Regions from separate parts of the Homo sapiens genome. Here region 1 is linked to region 2. The links are contacts of gene promoters, found by promoter capture Hi-C in blood cells and fetal thymus (Javierre and others, 2016). All regions are on one chromosome and are shown on one strand. Each heading gives the region's core, a stretch centred on a gene start or on the middle of the fragment in contact. The rest is flanking DNA. Distances are from core to core; before and after follow the strand shown.

Evidence for each region. Contacts are between HindIII fragments. The CHiCAGO score rates a contact against its expected background, and 5 or more counts as called.
Region 1: a contact is called between the fragment with the promoter of TLE1 here and the fragment with the promoter of PSAT1 in region 2, in 1 of 17 cell types (fetal thymus). The highest score is 6.2, in fetal thymus.

Annotation. Positions count from the first base shown.
Region 1 is chr9:81,688,122-81,693,390 of GRCh38, forward strand. It overlaps TLE1 (TLE family member 1, transcriptional corepressor), which reads right to left and starts at 1,426. Exons shown (of 20, transcript NM_005077.5): 1 at 96-1,426. The coding sequence starts at 119. TLE1-DT (TLE1 divergent transcript) reads left to right here and starts at 1,592. Exons shown (of 4, transcript NR_109772.1): 1 at 1,592-1,838. RefSeq lists an enhancer at 737-1,451 and silencers at 1,324-1,673, 1,824-1,973. The HindIII fragment of the contact is 8,493 bases long and covers 1-5,269 here.
Region 2 is chr9:78,295,267-78,300,501 of GRCh38, forward strand. PSAT1 (phosphoserine aminotransferase 1) reads left to right here and starts at 1,859. Exons shown (of 9, transcript NM_058179.4): 1 at 1,859-2,004. The coding sequence starts at 1,945. RefSeq lists enhancers at 945-1,214, 1,105-1,688, 1,689-2,272 and a silencer at 2,225-2,464. The HindIII fragment of the contact is 4,911 bases long and covers 1-3,535 here.

The DNA of each region.
Region 1 (5,269 bases), core at 176-2,675, 3.4 Mb after region 2:
CCGCCGGGCCTCAGAAGCCACCAGTCTCCCTACCGCCCGGGAGAAGCGCCTCCCCAACGATCCTGGCCCCCCACCACCACCCAGCCGCGCCTCACCGGGTGCCGGCTCTGCGGGAACATCGCTCTGGCGGCGGCCGGGGCTCTGTTCCCCGGCAACTCAATTCTCCGGTCAATTTCCAACTTTAATCCCGCCGAGGAAAATTAAGCCGGAAAGCCAAGCAGAAGCGGGGAGCGCGCTGGCCACGCACGCGCGCTCCGCCGGGCGCACCGGCCACTCGGCGCCCGCAGCTGCTCCGGCTCCCGCTCCCGTCGGTGCGGGCTCCGGCCCTCAGGGCCACATTAGTGGGCGCCCCAGGCCCAGCTGCTTCAAGAACCTGCGCGGAGACGTCGGGCGCTCGGGGACTGTGCGCGGGGGCAGCGCTCCAACCCCCGGCCTCAGCTGCCCGGGCGGGGAGGCGGGGGCGCGGTGACTCCGACCGCACTCCCCTCGGCGATCCGCGTGCGCGGCGCCAGTCCTGGGCAAACAAATCCAGACGGACTGCTTTTCTTTGCTCTTCTCCTGGTCCGCCTCCTCTTCGGGCTTTCCCCGAGGCGGCGGCGGGCGAGGTGCAGGTGGCGCGGCGGCCCCCGCTAACCCCACACAAACCCGACGCTTTCGGGGCGACTCCCGCAAGATTCGGCTGCGCCTTCGGCCGGGTGCTCGCAGGCTCCCGGGACGCAAAGGGGAGCGAGGTTGAAGACGCAGCGGAGGCTCCTGGCCGGGGAGCGACGGATGACGAGGCGGGGAAAGTGCGGAGGGCGCGCCGGGAGGCGGCTCGGCACGCCCCGTGCGACCAGCACTCGGTGTTCTCCGCGGTTGCACAAACCCTCCGGGCCCGACGGGGCTACTCCACCGAGAGCAGTCCCGCAAGTGCCCAATGCTCCTCGAGCCCGGGGAGCATCAGGGCGCCGCGCCTCGGGCGCACTCGCCCTGCACGGCCGGACCGGCCGCTCCGGACCCTTCTTCCGAGCTCCTTCTTCCTCGGTCTTCTTTCTTTCCTTCCTTCACCTTCGTGTGCTTCTCCGCAAAGGGCGCTCCAGCCCACTGCAAAGTTCTCTCACCACCCGAGGGACGACATCCACGAGATGGTGGGGAAAACAGCAGGAGTGCGCTCCGCCAATCGGCCACCCTCCCCGGCGGGCAAACTCTGCGGGCGAGTCCAGAGTAGTCACAGCGGTGGGGCCAGCGGGGGTTTTGGTCGCCGCGGGACGACGGAGGTCCGGGCTGGTGGCGCGGGTCCCGCCCGGCCGTGCGAGGGTGGGGTGGCGCAGTCGGCTGCCTCCGGGACGCGGGGCACAGAGTACCCGCCGCTGTTTCTGCTGCTGCTGCTTCTGCAGCCGCCGCTCCCACCGCCGCCGCCGCCCGCGCCTCTCGCGCCGCTTACATTAACACGCGGTTTCACACTCCGGAGCTAACCAGCGCCGGCCCCGCCCAGCCCCGTTCGGGCGGGGGGCGCGAGCGCGGAGCCGGCGGGGGACGTGAGCCCGGGAGGTTGGGGGGTGGGGGGGGGGCAGAAGGCCCGCATCAGCCAATCGCGTGCGCTGCAACCAACGTGGGGCGCTGACGCGCTCCTCCCCGGAGCGTATGGCAGCGCAGCGCCGGACGGGGCGTTCTCCCTCCCCCCCTCCTCTCGCTTCCATCTCCGCCGTCTCCTCGGTCTCCCTTCCCATCCCGGCCCCTCCTCCGCCAGCCGCGTCCTCCCGGGCTTGGTGAGGAACTGTTCCTGGAGGAGCCGCGGGACGCCAAAACCAGCCAATGGGAAGCGGCGATTCGCGGAGATTGGCACTGATGATGGGAAGGTCGGTGGGAAGGAGAGCGGCGGGGCTGGGCTGTCAATCAAAGTAACGTGGGGCTGGCTAGAGAGCGCGCGGGCGCGCGCTAGCGGGAGGGACTGGCGAGCGTGCAGCCGGGGAAGCTGAGGGCTCGAGTTAGCAAAAATCCTGCCACTTGCTCACTTTTCCCTTTAATGAAAATCCTCAGATCTAAGTGAAAGTAACTCAAAGACTAGCTGCGGAGTTTCTTATTGGAGGCGGAGGGGGGCTTTTGGTAATTCGAGCAAATGTGTTTTTCAGTGCTGGACCCCTTGTTTGATGCTACTCTAAAAGTGAGGCCACATTCAAAAATTTATCTGAGGTTTGTTTTTCCTTGAGCTGCCTTTTTACGGATGTACGAGAGGGAGTGGACTGTGCACTTAGTTGGAAATGCGTAAATGAGCAACGCCACGGTTGGCGTAGGTACACCAGCAAAGACGACTGTGATGTCCTCCCACCCCACCCACCCCCTTTGCACCCAAAGTGGTAGGATTTGATTTTTATTGCAGGATTTCAAGCCACTTTTCAAAAAGATCGTCCTGTCCCGTTTGGCGGGAAGGATTCCCAGGGTGCTGCCAGAACAAGGCACGCGTGTCCGCAGATGAGACGTTTTGCCCGGGGCGCGAAATCCCAGGTCTTCGTCTTAAAAGTCCTGACTTCGCTGTGTTGGGAGAGGTGGGGAGCGGCTGAGGTTTTTAGGAACTTCTCAGCTACAAGACTACGAGTCTGTTTCCAATTCCTGGGAACAAAGAGAGACAATGTAATAAACCAGCACTGAGACCTGAAAAACCTGTCCCGCACACCCCACCCCCACAGTCTGGGTGGTACTCCTGAGCTGAGCTGTGTGAAGAGCTAAATGGGAAGAGTTAGGTAAATGACGTGGCTAAGGTTCTTATGAAGTGGAACTTGAGTTAAAAGGGATTTTGAGATTGTAATAATCAAGACATGCTGTATAATTAATGCTGAGAGTCTTTGGTTTTTGTGTATGTCTCTAAATACACAGCAGAAAACCGTCAGTATTGCCGCATTTATGCTTTTGTTTGAGGAACATTTCCACATGAGCAGTGAATGAATAATGCTGGTTTAGCCAAACGGTGGTAACTTCTTCCATAAGGGCACATCTTGGACAAGTATTTATCTTATGTTGGAAACTAGTTAAGTTTTTGGTATTAATAACCCCCACGTTATTATTTTATTATTTTACCTTCAAGAGACTTACGGGAAGGAGCTTATTTAAACAGACATACATTTTATTTAAAGATGTGCTTTTACAGAGTTCTTTTTCTTGAAATAGTTTTAGAAGTCATTTTAGATAATACATTTCACTGTTGGAGTTGTTTTTAAATATGTATGATATTGATTTGTCTATAATTGCATCACTCCCAAATATCAATTATAAATGAAAAAATAAAAAAGCGATTTTAACCAGTCTGTACGAAGCCATAGTAAATTCTTAAACAAGTTGGGCATTGTAGCTTTGTGGTGTTCTCATTAAGTACAGTTGGGAAGGCGGCTGTATTATTCATTTTGCTAACATGGAGAACAAAAAAGAAGAAAGCACTGCCTCACTTTCCTTGGTTAAATTTGGTGACGATGACAGTTTTGCTCGACATACAGGACTTTTTGGAATCATAGGATCCCAGGGCCTTTAGCAACCTGTTTTCCTTGAAATTATCTAGTGATTGAGCCACATATACCAGTCTGCGGCCAGTTCATCCCATAATCAGCTCCAGGACCGGACAGAAAGTGCTTGGATGCCACAAGTATGCTTGTATACATGCTGTGACAACTGGAGCAACTGATATTCCTCCCCGGCTTACCCAGGCTTTATGTGGTGCCTGTATCTTGAATAACTGGCACACTCCCATTAAGTTTAAACAGAGCCATTAAAATATGCTTTGAGATGGGGCAAAAGTGTTGCTACTTCTCTTCTTTCCCCACCCCGCTGCCCTCAAAATCAGTACTAAGGCATCTTTAAATGTTCTCTAACATAACTACTCACAGACAATGTGTCTGCTCACCATATTTCCCAGTTTGCCATGAGTAAACACTAGAAATTCTCTTTTAACTAGTCTTTCCTTGCCAATAGAGTTTGAAACACCAGGCCTTCTGATTTCCTTATAATGAAGTATCTGTAGTATCTACAGAGCATTATGAATTTAAAATTGGAAGGCCTTTAATTGTGTGCATAAAAATGGTTGGTTTTGGTTTTTGAAGCCTTTTTTTCCCATTTAGAGCATCGTCTGTCAGAGTGGGAGAAGGCTCTGCCCTTTTCAAGGTCATATTTTCTCCACGATTGTCATGCTGTAATAATTATACTACAAAACTCTCATCAAACTGCATTACAAATGACGGCGTTTAAACAGTCAAGTAGCTTTAATCTTATGTTTTAAATAAATAATATATGTGCAGATTGCCTACAGCCTGTTTAAAAGAAAATAGTCCTCCTCATGAAATCTATAATTTTGGTCTTCCATTTAAAGCCTGTTAACCATAATCTTCTTTACCTTTAACATTCATATGTCAATGATGTTTTTATGTGAAATGTATGATGCTCCCACTGGAAATTTTCTCTGAAAAACACAGTACCCTTTTTATGCTCTGCAGAGAAACAGAAAGATTGTCAGCTTGTTCATTTTCTTTTGATGCATATGTGGGTATATTCCCATTCATTTGTTGCTGATTATCAAATTTTCAACTCAGCAATAGCCTAAGTAATTACAAAAGCTAGATGTTATCTAGTACAGATACTAAACAAAATAGGAAAAGTTATAGATGCTGATCGTAGCAACTAGACATCTTTTAAATCTATTACTTTTTTATTTGAAATAATAATTGTAATTTTTTAATTTTTTTTGGAGACGGAGTCTCACTCTGTCTCCCAGGCTGAAGTGCAGTGGTGCCATCTCAGCTCACTGCAACCTCTGCCTCTTGGGTTCGAGATTCTCCTGCCTCAGCCTCCCCAGTAGCTGGGACTACAGGCGTGTGCCACCACACCCGGCTAATTTTTATATTTTTAGTATAGACGGGGTTTCGCCTTGTTGGCCAGGCTGGTCTCAAACTCCTGACCTCGTGATCCGCCCTCCTCAGCCTCCCAAAGTGCTGGGATTACAGGCATGCACCACCACACCTGGCCAATAATTATAGTTTTTAACAGACCACTTTTGTTGTGTTCTCTTCCTTTTAGCTGAGAATTATTGCTCATACATTTCCTCATTTGACTTTTTTTTTTTTTTTGAGTCAGCATCTCGCTCTGTCACCCAAGCTGGAGTGCAGTGGTGCGATCTCAGCTCGTTGCAACCTCCGCCTCCGAGGTTCAAGCGATTCATGTGCCTCAGTCTCCTGAGCAGCTGGGATAACAGGCGTGTACCACCACGCCCGGCTAATTTTTGTATTTTTAGCGGAGACAGGGTTTCACC
Region 2 (5,235 bases), core at 609-3,108:
AGATTGCCCAGGGGCGGGAGGAAGACAAACAGAGGTCAGTGGGTCCTGAGGCTGACTGTATGTGTGACTTGTGTCCCTGAAATACCATCTTGGAAACTGCAGGACCCCCGGGAGGAATGGCTGCAGGGGATGTCTTAGCAGATGAGACAATAGCCACCGCCACCCCACCCCAAATTCCTGTGCCCCTAGTGGGATACAGAAGTAGTAGGTTGCTCATCAACCCAAGCAGCCACATCAGCTTGGGCAGTGGAAACAACTCAGCCATATCTTTTGGGAACAGAGGACCAAATGGATGTGCTGTCCCTTCTCCCAACCCACTACATGGGACTGTGTATAGCCCTGGTGTTAGGAACTAACTCCAGGAAGGATGAAGGCTGACTCCCTTAGTCTCCAGTAGATAAGCTGCTAGGGGCAGCTACTAATATATAATAACTGAGTTATTTACGTAAAATAATGGATATGTGATGCTTCTTGCATGCCTGAGTTTCTGGGCTGAGATTTATTCTGTCTTGAATGTCGCGGTTTTCTTAATGAAGTTGCTGAGGAACGCAGGGGCCTTGTTCATTTTGCCTTTTTCTGGAAACTTTGTCCTCCAATTCCCAGATCCAGAGCAGTGCCTCTGCTCTCAGCCCCATACCGCCCACATTCTCATTAGGAAAAGCAAACAAAAGCCAAAGTCCTGTCCAGTTACAAGCCTTCTCTAAACGGGGCAGTTGGACTGTATATATTCCTGGCGCATCAATTTTACTCAGACAGGGAAAATATTTTTACATTAAAAGAAACTAGGTTAAATTATGGTAGAGAATGCAAAATTCACAGTTTAAAAATGATGAAATTCCAGACTTCAAAGGAACTTCTTTCTTGCAGGGTAGGGGGAGGGTATTCTGTTTCAGAACCCCATGCGGGTCTCCACTGGAGTTCTTTTGAGAAGGACACTTCTGTGGAAAAGTTTGAGCAGCTCTGGCCCTGCGCCTGGCCTGGCTAGGGGCCACCTTCTTCTGGTTTGGGCTGCAGCGCCCTATGGGTATCGCGTTCTTGTTAATATCTCCTCACGTTTCTAAACTCACAGCTTGTCAGCGCGGGCGCAACCTGAGAGCTGTCGCAGGTTTCCAGCTCACTCGTTTCCCAAAGGAGGAAATGGAGAATCAGCGACTTTAAAGGACTTGCCTGGCGGGCATCCACGCTTCCCAGGCTATCGCTCCTCCCTGCGTCCTTGGCCACCTCCGTTCTTTAATCCTGCAGGAACTCAGGACCCACGTGCAAATACAAAGAACCGTATCCACCCACCCCCGGCCCTTCTTCATCCTGCGCTTCCAACCTTGGGGGGGTCCTCTCTCTCCACTGGGGTATCTGACGCCCGTGGGGGGTGCTTAGAAAAGTTTGGTAGATTAGTGACTGGTGGTTCTGGAACAAATACATCACAGCCCAAACTGGGGGCTGGTGGTGGAGAGGTGGGTGGATGGGGGCTACAAATCTGCTCGGCAACTGCCCTTTCAGCCAAGAGAGAGGAGCTGAGGTCCTCTGGGGTTGGAGGACTGGAACCGGCCAGATTGCGGGCTCAAGGGGCGAAGGCAGGTTGGCAGGGGCAGCCTCTTCCCGCCGCCCACAATCCTCGGGCGGGCGCGCAGCCGAGCCGGCTCGGCTGGCTGGCGCAATCTCGCGCGCTCCTTGCATTGATCAAAAATGGGGGTTGAAACAGTAAACGCGAGGAGGAGCAACTGCTTCGACTCGGCTCAGAAGCGCGACCAATGGGGATGTGAGCTCCTTCGCGCGAACCAATTAGCGCAGGGCCTGCGACAGCACGGGCCAATGGGGCGCCGACTCGGCGCAGGAACAAGGCGGGGGTTCGGGGCCGGCTGCAGACTCTCACCGCAGCGGCCAGGAACGCCAGCCGTTCACGCGTTCGGTCCTCCTTGGCTGACTCACCGCCCTGGCCGCCGCACCATGGACGCCCCCAGGCAGGTGGTCAACTTTGGGCCTGGTCCCGCCAAGCTGCCGCACTCAGTAAGTCCCCGCGAGCGGGCGCCGGGAGTGAGGTTCAGGCGGGAGCACGCACGCGGGTGGGTTTGCATCCCTGCGTGTGGCAGTCGGATTCCCGCTCCCTGCCTTGAGTCCCCTAGGCGCTTTGCATCAGCGTGCACAGCGGGATCAGCAGCTCCGGCAAGCGGGCTTCGGGAAGAATGCAGTTGGTGAGGAAGCTCGGCGAGGCGTGCCCGTGCAGCTGCCCCTGGCCCTGACTGCTGGTGCGAGGCAGTGCACGACTCAGCTGGCCGGGGCCTGCTGTCCCGCCGGTGCCACGCACCTGCAGACGCCCGGGCTGTGCCATCTCCTGGGCCGGTCCGGGGGCTGGGGCGGGGCGAAAAAGAAAAAGCTCTGATCTCTGCCTTCGCCTCGCGCAGCTGTGCGGCGAGCCCGGGCAGTGTGGAGCGGATGCATGAATGGACATAGTGTGAATGAGTGATGAACGGGAATGAACCGATGACAGGTTTTGCATATGCAGTGGATCACGTTAGCTGAAAGGGATTGCAAACTTAAAGGTCCGCGTGTGCGTGCCCCCCTACGCCTTACACCAGTGTTTGCTTTAGCCAGCACTTAGGAACACTGCTTTTCAGAAATGTAAATTTGAAAACCTTCAGTCCAGCTTTCCCCTCCTTGTCCCCCATAGAACCTACCCTTTCCTAAAGCCTTTCTCCCCACCCCCCTCCTTTTTTTAACCTGCTTGTCCCCTAAAGGCGTTCGAGTATTCTAACTCTGGTAGACTTTGGGCTGCTTAACCCAATTCCCTGTTCATTTCGTTCTGGAGTAAACCGAGTGATTGAATTCTCTCCCGGGCCACAATCAGATCTTGCTGGTGGAACTCACTCTCTGCCTTCCCAGGCCCCAGCCCGGCTCCTCCCCTCCCCCGCCAAACCCACCGTCCCCAGCCCCACCCGCAGTGAAGAAGGCAAAGTCTCCGATGTGCCTTGAGCCCATTGTCAGGCGGCTGCCGCCGCCGTTAGATTTTTATTTTTCTAACCAGGATAGAGCTGATAATATGTTGGAGCAGCATGAGGCATAGCCAAGTATTTTACAATTATCAATTGTTGAGCAGAGTAGAAATCTCCCTGGGACAGAGCCTCCTCTGTGTTGTGGTAAGAACAGAGAATCCAATTTTAAAGGGGAAAGGACTTCTTACTTTTCTAGGGGCAGCGCTCACAGTAGCTGAGAGGACAGGGCTTATTTTTTCTCAGTGGTTACAGTTCATTTTAGGCGAGATTCCCTGCTCCAGCTGTGGAGATGTTTCCTGTAGCCTCCTCCTGCACCCCCCATGTTTTGGAGTGTTCCCAACGTTTGTTCCCTATGTATTTCGTTATTAATTTATTACTATAATTGTAATGGCAATTGTCATCAGTAATACAATTATTTGTTATTAATTTTTCTGGGAGGATTTTTGCCCTTGGACTGCATGTAACCTGGGGGGCAGGAGGGTGAGGGGGCAGGCAGATGTTGCTTTTTATGTATTTCCTTGATTTAGTTGAATTGTAAATATTAGAGAAGCTTTCAAACTTCTTTTGACTGTAACCTACAGTGAAAAACATGTTTACAAAATGACAAAGTATACACATTCAATTGTAACAAAAATAAATGCCTTATGAAATGATGTGTAGCCTAATTACCTGTGACATACACTATTTTGTATTCTATCCTGCTCTAGTCTGTTCTGTTTCATTAAAAAAATTAGTCGTGAGCTGGGTGTGGTGGCGCACGCCTGTAATCCAAGCAACTCAGGAGGCTAAGGTGGGAGGATCTCTTGAGCCCAGGAGTTTGAGGCTGTAGTGAACTGTGATTGTCCCACTGCATTCCAGGCTGGGTGATAGAGCAAGACCCTGTCTCTTAACAAAAAAAAAAAAAAAAAAAAAAAAAAAATTGGTTATGATCCACAAAAGCAATGCATTCTTCAACTGGAAAAAAAAAAACCTACTGGATTAGGGAGGTGTGATTTTTCAGTAGGAGTCTTTAAAACTGTTTGTAATTATTTTGGTTATAAACTTTTATAGAACTATTTTCAATGAATGCTGTCTATAAGAAAGATACAGTCTCAGGAGCAAGTTCAAAGATTATTCACAGATGAATGTTTCTCTTTACTAAAAGAAAAGATTCACTCTATTTTATTTGATCAGCTGGTGCTAACAAGCATCCAACATTTCAGAAAACAATAACACATTCTTAGACCCAGTCGTCAAGGCAGTCTTTTTTTTAATCTAATTCTTTTTTTTTTTTTTTTTTGAGAGAAGTCAAGCTCTGTCACGAGGCTGGAGTGCAGTCGCTTGGTCTCGGCTCACTGAAACCTCCGCCTCCCGGGTTCCAGCGATTCTTCTGCCTCCGCCTCCTGAGTAACTGGGATTACAGGCACCCACCACCAAGCCCAGCTAATTTTTGTATTTTTAGTAGAGACGGGGTTTCACCATGTTGGCCAAGATGGTCTCAATCTCTTGACCTCATGATCTGCCCGCCTTGGCCTCCCAAAGTGCTGGGATTACAGGCGTGAGCCACCACGCCCGGCCTTGTCTAATTCTTTATTGTTAAAATACTGTTTTTTGAGACAAGTTGCAATCCAGTTTAGGTTATAGCTGTGTTTTAATGATGCCCTCCTTAGCAAGCATCTTAAAAAAAAAGGTGCCTCCTATCTGTAGACCTTCTCTGGCTGGTTGCTTTTGCACTTATTTTGTGTTCATTTTTAAAGCTTTTCTTTTTCTCTTTATTTTTTATTAAGGGAATCCTCACATACACAAAGATAAAAGTAGTGTAATGAACCTCCAAGGACCCATCTCTGAGACTCAACAATTATCAACATTGTGCCAGTCTTGTTGCAGCACCCTGGGACGAATCTTATTCACAGCAGGCTCTTCCTTCTTCCTGCCCACCCCACGCTTCCCAGTCTAGCACCTTAGACCAAAAGAGATCGGAAAATTGAGTTACCTGTATAATCTGGGCATAATTTTTTTATCGTTGTCCCTTTAACCCAGAACTTTATGCATTCTTTACTTTAGCTTTAGGAGAGTGGTGAATGAGATTTGTGAAGGGGACATTTTCTAGGGAATCGGTAAATTCGGGCCTTTGGAAAAAGTGTATCAACATCAGTCACATTGCCTAATTTCATGCTTACCTTGTGTGTAAGTTGCATAATCGCTGGCTTTGTGGACATGGGAAGGAAGGAGACTGGCTGTGGGTGGGGATGGAAGCCTGGGGACCTCA